3 separate regions of the Homo sapiens genome follow, and all the other regions are linked to region 3. The links are contacts of gene promoters, found by promoter capture Hi-C in blood cells and fetal thymus (Javierre and others, 2016). All regions are on one chromosome and are shown on one strand. The core of a region is centred on a gene start or on the middle of the fragment in contact, and the rest is flanking DNA. Distances in the headings are between cores, read along the strand shown.

Region 1 (2,818 bases), core at 244-2,743, 460 kb before region 3:
CACCCCATGACAGGCCCCAGTGTGTGCCATTTCCTTCCCTGTGTCCATGTGTTCTCATTGTGCAGCTCTCACTTATAAGTGAGAACATGTGGTGTTTGGTTTTCTGTTCCTGAGTTAGCTTGCTGAGGATAATGCCTTCCAGCTCCAACCATGTCCCTGCAGAGGACATGATCTCATTCCTTTTTATGGCTGCATAGTATTCCATGGTATATATGAGGTACAATGTTATTTTCTTCAGAAAATAATCAGACCTAGAGTTTGTTTTAGATCTCAGCACTGCCCAATTTAAGTACAAAATAATCATAATAATTATAATTACAACATCTTTATAAGTGAAAACTTCCAGATAAAAAAAATCAAGACACAGATGACCTTTCCCAATGTACAGGTCACTCTTCCATCTGTTTTAAGTGGAAGGACTAACAGGAATCACACCCAAAGTGAGAGAATAATTAGAATAACAAGGTTAGAACCGCCTTGCTAACCATGGCCAAGGCTGTGCTAAAATGACGAAGAATCCTGGTCAGACCACAAGTTAATACTCCCAGCTCGCCAGGCCACATGCTTGCTGATACTAAGATTTTCTAGTGGATGTGGGAAACAGTTGAAATTGGAATATCTGGGTCAGCACAACTTAATGTGCACTATGACAAAAATCTAACTTGAGCAGCCTTCCCCAATGTTCACAGTTCTTTTCCTCTCGTTCAAATGTTTTGGTACACCCCAAACATGAGACAATTTCTCCTAATGTCCTCTATGAACAGGAAATTCACAAGTGGCAAAAAGTAGGTAGCAGAGTTATTATGCAAAGACCAACCATCTAGGAATAAGGCAGAAAGGCTTCTCTCCTCAAATGGGGCACTATTTATACCACTCAACTCACCCATGCACCTCGAAATGTCTTTCTGGAGTCTTAAAGGTAGTTCACAGAGAAACCCAGATTAAGTGATTGACTTAAAGCTAAGCTAGACTTTAAAGCCATATGTCACTGGGGAGAACAAAGGGCCTGCTGACGTTTCAAACAAAGGGTCTCTGTTCTGCTCAAATTTGAATTCAAAGAAATCCTTTTGCCAACTAAATTCTCCATAGTTTCTCTAATTGGGTTGCATTTCAGTCTTTATTATTTCATTAACATAGCTTTAGGTACACTTATTTTCCTAAAGTCCAGGTTATTTCTAATTCATTCTATATTTAGAAGTCCAAAATATCACCATCAGTTTCCCTGAAGCCTCCTGACTGGTTAAGATTATCAACGGACTCTTCTGGCTAGAAAAAAAAAATCCTGTTAACCATTTCCCCATGGTATCCTTCCCAGCAGTAAAATTCACAGCAAAGCTACTTGATTTCTTAGGCACTCATTTTTCTTCTATAATGAGACTGCCGACAGATGCCCATATAATGGAAATCTCCATTGACTACCATGGATCATCTCTATCCGAACTTTGTAATCTGCATCAAGAAAGAATTTTCAATATCGTCTGTCTTTCTGGATGGTCTATTTCCCCTTTTGTCATTTATACAAATCCTCTTCACCATGCTTCCACCTTCATGTGTGTGCATTTCTGTACAGCAGTATATCCTCTTACCCTTATTATAGCAGTTGATTGTATGTACTTTGCTTTATTATTCTTTTCTCTAGTGTTTTTTTTTTTCTTCTAAGCATGGATTTATTTCATCCAGCTGGTTCCAAGAATAGGAGCCATATCTTCTAATTCTTCTTATGCCTCTAAATACCACTTAGCACATTGAAGATGCCTAATAAATATGCTTCCCTAGTAATATCAGCTTTCTGGTCTTAGTTTCATTTGCATTAATTTGCTTTCCCTTAAAAAATTCCTCAAATTTATTTGTTAAATTCATATGTAAATTGTTTAGAAAACATTCTCAGGCCTCTTATAAACTCATTTCACCTAGTTACAGATACACTGTAGCTGGATTTTGACTGGAAAGGAATTTTGGATGTATGAGCTGTGACATGACTGTATTCCTATCTTAACTCAGCATCTCACCGGTGGCTTTTCATTACTACAACTCTAACTGGTTTATTGAGGGTGGAGTTTAACTAAGAAACAACTTTTATCCTTCTTCCACGTCTGGCCTTAATTATTATACTTGATCAGATTTCCTTTCTTTGCCTCCTTGGTGACAACTTGCACAAACCGCACAGTCTTTCAGTCAATTTCAACGTGTTAACAAACAGGCTCATTTTCAAGTATAAAATAAAATAGCACAACCCAATCTAATGTAAAAACTTAAATCTTCCATTTAATGGAAGCTCCTTCCCCAACACACCCCCTTCTCCACTTTGTCCCAGGGTCTCTCAGAGGAAATGTGACTCCTCAGGGCTGTAGACAGGCAACGAAGCATGGCCTGATTCCCTTTTTTGGTTCTCCACTTGGCTCTTTCATTCTCAGCCCCACATCAGCAGGTTGCTCTCAGACTCTTACAGAGTTGGGCTGTCAAAAAGGGAGGAGGGGTAGACGGTGACCGAGTTTCTAATTTGGCTGCTACTCATACAACGGTGTCAGAGTTCCCTGTGTGGCAAATGCCCCATTGCCGAATTTCTTTAGTTGGTGTATTTTGTAGGTAATTGGGGACCCTCCCCACCAGAACCCCCGACACAGGGGACTCTGTCCTGCATAGGGGAGTGTGTTCTCTGGCTGACCTCTTGTGACACCCTCTCAGTTCTTTGCTCCATTCATATACTCCACTGAACTTTCCTTTGCTGGGGGGTCCCTGATCCTGATTCCTGTCAAGAGGCCCCTAGAATGGGTACCCCTAGTGGCATCACATGGCCCAGAAAATCTTCATCCTGCCT
Region 2 (2,700 bases), core at 139-2,638, 500 kb before region 3:
AAACCCTGCCTCTACTAAAAATACAAAAATTACCTGGGCATGGTGGCAGGTGCCTGTAATACCAGCTACTTGGGAGGCTGAGGCAGGAGAATCACTTGAACCTGGGAGGCAGAGGTTGCAATGAGCTGAGATCGTCCCACTGTACTCCAGCATGGGCGACAGAGCAAGACTCCATCTCAAAAATAAATAAATAAATAAAAACTGAGCTTATGATGGTCTTCTCTTTACTCTTCTTCCTATCATTGGTTATGCCCCCTCCTCTCATGCCCCTTGACCATTTCTCTCTTTCTGTTAGGTTTGGAGATATTGTAATGGAGCCTTTTTTGGCGAGTGAGCATTTCTTCACCCCCTTCTTCTGTTAACAGCCTCTCCCACTTCCCTTGGGCCTCCTCTCTCACACTCTCTGTTGGTTGGGTGGCTCTTCCACCCACAATTGGTGCATCACTCTGCTGGTGACTATAATTGGGCCAGGGATGGACACGTGATCCAGGCTGGTTTTTTTCACTTGTAATCTAAATAGTCCTAACAACAATAGTTCTAAATAATCCTAACAACTGAAGTTTCTGCCATGTCTTCCTCTGCCCATCTCCAAGCAGCCTGCTCTATTCTCAGGTCCTACAGTCTTGGGAGTTATTTTCTATTTTGTTTTTTTCTTTTCATATAAATTAAGAACAATTGTCCTAATTATGTAACTATATATGTAAGAAGTAAATATTCAATGTTGAAATGTAGAAAATATAAACAGGTGTAGAGGAGATTTCTTTTCTCACCCCCTGCTAGGTTCACAGCTAGGGCTCTTATAATAAAGGCAGATTAATAAGGGAAAAGCACAGACATTTATTTAATAGAAGTTTTACATCACATAGGAGCCTTCAGAAATAAAGATCCAAAGAGACAGGGAAACCCATGTATTTCTATGTTAAGTTTAAGGAAGAAAAGGATAGTCATGGAAAAGTATGATTAGACAAAGAGGCTATGAGCTAATGGTAATAAACTGAGGGGACTTAGCAAGGCCTGTTTGTTCAGATTCTTCCCTGTCTCTTCAGCGATAAAGATGTTCCTTTCTTCCAGGTATAGGGTGGAAAGAAGGTTTTATGATCTATTTCAGGGGAAGTTCAGCGAGGTGTCTTTTTTTTTTTTCTTTGGCAGAGTTTCGCTCTTGTTGCCCAGGCTGGAGTGCAATGGCGTGATCTTGGCTCACTGCAACCTCCGCCTCCCAGGTTCAAGCGATTCTCCTGCCTCAGCCTCCCAAGTAGCTGGGATTACAGGCATGTGCCACCACGCCCCAGTTAATTTTTTTTGTATTTTTAGTAGAGATGAGTTTTCACCATGTTGGCCAGGCTGGTTTTGAACTCCTGACCTCAGGTGATCCATCCACCTCCGCCTCCCAAAGTACTGGGATTACAGGCGTGAGTTACCACGCCTGGCCTCAGCTAGGTTTTATAGCCTACTTTAGGGGAGAAGAGGCAATGTCAAGGTGAGAATGACCTTCCTGCTTCTGTTGTTTTCTCAAATGCCAAGGTACCATATTTTGGGGTAGCATGTACTGAACTTCAGCACAGGTATACAACAGAAATATGATTCACTCCTCCTAAGGGTTCATTTAATTAGATTAGGGCCACCTGGATAACCATGTCAGTAACCTTAATTACATCTGCAGAGTCCACTGTGATATGCAAAGTAACATATTTCACAGATTCCAGGGATGAGGGCTTGGACATCTTTGGAGGGCGATTCTGCCTATCCCATACAGCTTATCAATTTTGCTTCTCGTCACTCTCTCTGTTCCAAAACAACTCATGCTTTTAATGGTAAAAGGCTACTGTATTTGGGGATTCCATTATCTGGTCATTAGAACAGCATATACAGTTGTGGAGTAGGCATATTTCACTGGGTTTTTCTAGAGTTTCTATAAAACAGTCTCCCAGAGCAATTTTTACTCTATGATTCTGATTAAAATTCAAATAGCATTCTGGTTAAAATTCACGTCTCAGGGAACTTGATGTCAGGAAGGTACTAGGAAAGAGAATGCAAATAATTGACTCGATAGATATTAAAAATATATATCAGATGTAAGTGTAAGTTAATATACTAATTACAGTATAAATATAAAATCTAAATTATAAATATATAAATTGGCCAAGCGTGGTGGCTCATGCCTATAATCTCAGCATTTTTGGAGGCCAAGTTGGGAGGATCACTTGAAGCCAGGAGTTTGAGACCAGCCTAGGCAACAAGGCGAAATCCTGTCTCTACAAAAAATTAAAAAAATTAGCCAGGCATGATGGTATGTGCCTATAGTTCCAGCTACTAAGGAGGCTGAGGTGGTAAAATCACTTGAGCCTGGAGGTCGGGGTTGCAATGAGCCATGATTGTGCCACTGCACTCCAGCCTGAGCAACAGAGCAGGACCCTGTCTCAAAAAAAAAAAAAAAAAAAGGCCGGGCGCGGTGGCTCACGCCTGTAATCCTAGCACTTTAGGAGGCTGAGATGGGCGGATCATGAGGTCAGGAGATCGAGACTGTCCTGGCTAACACGGTGAAACCCTGTCTCTACTAAAAATACAAAAACTTAGCCGAGTGTGGTGCAGGCGCCTGTAGTACCAGCTACTCAGGAGGCTGAGGCAGGAGAATGGTGTGAACCCGGGAAGCGGAGCTTGCAGTGAGCCGAGATTGTGCCACTGCACTCCAGCCTGGGCGAC
Region 3 (2,700 bases), core at 181-2,680:
ATGGAAAAATGAGAAAGAAATATTCAAACAGGTTTTTGATATCACAGAGATCCTGGACTCTGTAAGTATCTGAAATTGAACTGAAGATAAGGAACAAGCTGAGGTCACACAATTATTGTGGGACAAAAATTGGAGTGGGTTTCTATGTTATGTGAGAGCAAGTTCATTGCAAGATTTCTTTAACCATGAAGCAAAAGAGGAAATACCAATTATAACCACATATACTTCATGAGATATGCTAAATGAGCAAAATAATGATTTGCATATGAACAAGGGAAAAACACACTTTATATGGAAACTATACACACACACATACACACACACAGATTTCAATAGAATGTATTTAGAGAACTTATGATTCATTAAGAGTAGGGAGAGACCACAAAAATGGGCAAATGACATTAATGGGCAATTTATAAAATGATAAAATTAGTAATAAAATATTTACTCTTATAAATCAACAAAATACAAAGGAAGTCAACAATGTGTATTTTTTACTTGTCAATTTGCCAAACACTTAAAAAGTGCTTTCATACACTGTTATTGGAAGTGTAGACTGATGTAATCTTTCTAGAGGGTAATTGGGCAATGTGTAGCAAGATCCTTACATTTTCCTCAGTTACTGACCCAGTAATTCCACTTCTTAGAGAAATAATTAAAGATTTGCAAAAAGCAAAAAAAATTATGTAGCTGGTTGCTCATCACAGCATTATTTGTAAAAATGAAAAAGCAGGAATTGACTAAATGACAGAATATTATTAGCAATTTCAACTGTTTTAAATAAATTGCTAATGCCATAGGAAAATTTCTGTAATACAATTTAAGTGAAATATTTCAGAAATAGTGCTGCATACATAATCAGGTAGCTATCTGAAAACATTAATAGTACTTATCTCTAGGTGAAATTATTTGGTCATTTTAACATTTTTCTTAATAATTAGGATAATGTGATTTACCAAATGAGATACTATGAAAATGAAGGATATAGAATTTGTATTACAATTTTCTTTTTCCAATCACAAAACATGACATGTCTATTTGTATATCTCATGCATTGTGTTAGGAAATGTTTGCTAGATATTTATTCATTTATTCAAGGATTATTAGAGGATTATGATTATTCAGTGATAAATTTCAGTGGTCTTTATTATTCTCATCTCATGGTGGTATATATGAGTAGCAAGGAAGGAGAAGCCAGCTGCATTGGTCTTAAAAAGAAACCATTCAATTTAGACAATCTAAATTATAATAATCAGTTCCTCTTCCCACTTTACACTCACCTATCATATCCCAGCCCTCCAGGAACCAGCATCCCCAAAAGATAAAGGGTTTCAAGCAGAGGCTTCATTCTGCCACACAGTAAGTTAGAAAATTCTGGGCCTCTCTGGCAGTGGATCAAGTGTCCTTGAGAATGAATGCATCAAGACTGTGGCTCCCACAATCAAGATGAGATAAATCAGTTAGTGGATGTCTCAGCAGAAAGTCACGGGCAATTGCTTTATTAACTCTCTCATGTCCTCAAACACCTTTTCCAGTGTGGGAAATGCTGTACCATTTGATATTTCATTTCTTCTCTAAAACCAAATTTACGTGAGCTCTCAACTTCACCAGATCCTGAAATAAATTTCCTCCCTATGTAAAGTCACCTTGGAGTATTTCTAGGAACCCCCATCACTCGTGCTCAGGAGCAATCATTCCTGCTCTTCCCCTCACACAGGTTGAATGGGAATAGTAGGCTAGTCTTTGTGAATCATGAGCCTGTTCATGAGACCAGAAAGAACACTCTGCTCTGGTCAAAATGGACATGGTCATTATTCAGAATCTCCACTTCCTCCTTCAATCTAAGGCTTTGATTGGGGTCAAATGCCTTCTCTTTTTCTGATGAACCACATCACCAGCTTCTTAAACAAACCCAGATCTCTTCAAATCTGAGCAGTGAAGACAGTTTCAATCCTTTCCCATGTGGATTTTACCCCACGCCCCTCTTACATGAAGGACTCTGTCAGATACTCCGCCATGTTTTCAGACATAGCCAAGTTATGCTTGAATCTCATTGACCAGTAAAATTAAAGACTCATGTTAAGACCATTGCTAATAGTCTAACTGAGCAAGGCAAACTTTAGCGCAGAGCAGGTAGAGTATTTAAATGGAGTCCTTGGCATTTAGGGACCCAGTTTAAATCTTCTGCCCTGTATTCATGTATTCATTCTACAAAAATCTCATGAGTACCACTGTATACCAGACACTATGCTAGATACTTAAGATACAAGGGTGAACAAGGCAGAGTCCCTTCTTTTATGGAACTCACAGTAGAGTTGAGAGAAAAATAAACGAGTATACAAACAAATGTTACAGTTTCAAGTAAAGAGAATGCAGTTAAAAAACTAGAGGAGATAAGCGCTTCCATGCTGTCTCCAGGCATGCCATCCACCCAGTCCCTCCATGTGTTTAGCAACCCAGAGGCTCTCCAAACTCTGTTCCCTTGTGTTTTTATGAAGACTTCATTACATAGGTATGATTGATCATATCATTGGTCATTGGTGATTAAATAAATCTCCAGTCCCTCTTTCCTCCCCAGAGATGGGAGGGGATTACTGAATAACATGGCTGATTCTCCTGGCAACCAGCCGCTATCCTTAGAAACTTTCCAAAAGTTACCTGTTCACTTAAACTTAGACATAGTCAAAAGGGACGTCATGA

The links. The method cuts DNA at HindIII sites, captures the fragments that hold promoters and counts their contacts. A CHiCAGO score of 5 or more calls a contact.
Region 1: a fragment that was not itself captured here is called in contact with the fragment with the promoter of CPO in region 3 in 6 of 17 cell types (neutrophils, total CD4 T cells, naive CD4 T cells and 3 more); the score reaches 6.9 in neutrophils.
Region 2: a fragment that was not itself captured here is called in contact with the fragment with the promoter of CPO in region 3 in 1 of 17 cell types (total B cells); the score reaches 5.0 in total B cells.

What each region holds. Positions count from the first base shown.
Region 1 is chr2:207,397,696-207,400,513 of GRCh38, reverse strand. No RefSeq gene overlaps it. Among named protein-coding and RNA genes, the nearest start is that of MIR1302-4, 130 kb to the right of the region's middle. The HindIII fragment of the contact is 4,854 bases long and covers 1-2,818 here.
Region 2 is chr2:207,440,670-207,443,369 of GRCh38, reverse strand. No RefSeq gene overlaps it. Among named protein-coding and RNA genes, the nearest start is that of CREB1, 88 kb to the left of the region's middle. The HindIII fragment of the contact is 9,014 bases long and covers 1-2,700 here.
Region 3 is chr2:206,938,248-206,940,947 of GRCh38, reverse strand. CPO (carboxypeptidase O) reads right to left here and starts at 1,430. Exons shown (of 9, transcript NM_173077.3): 1 at 1,281-1,430. The coding sequence starts at 1,348. The HindIII fragment of the contact is 5,939 bases long and covers 1-2,700 here.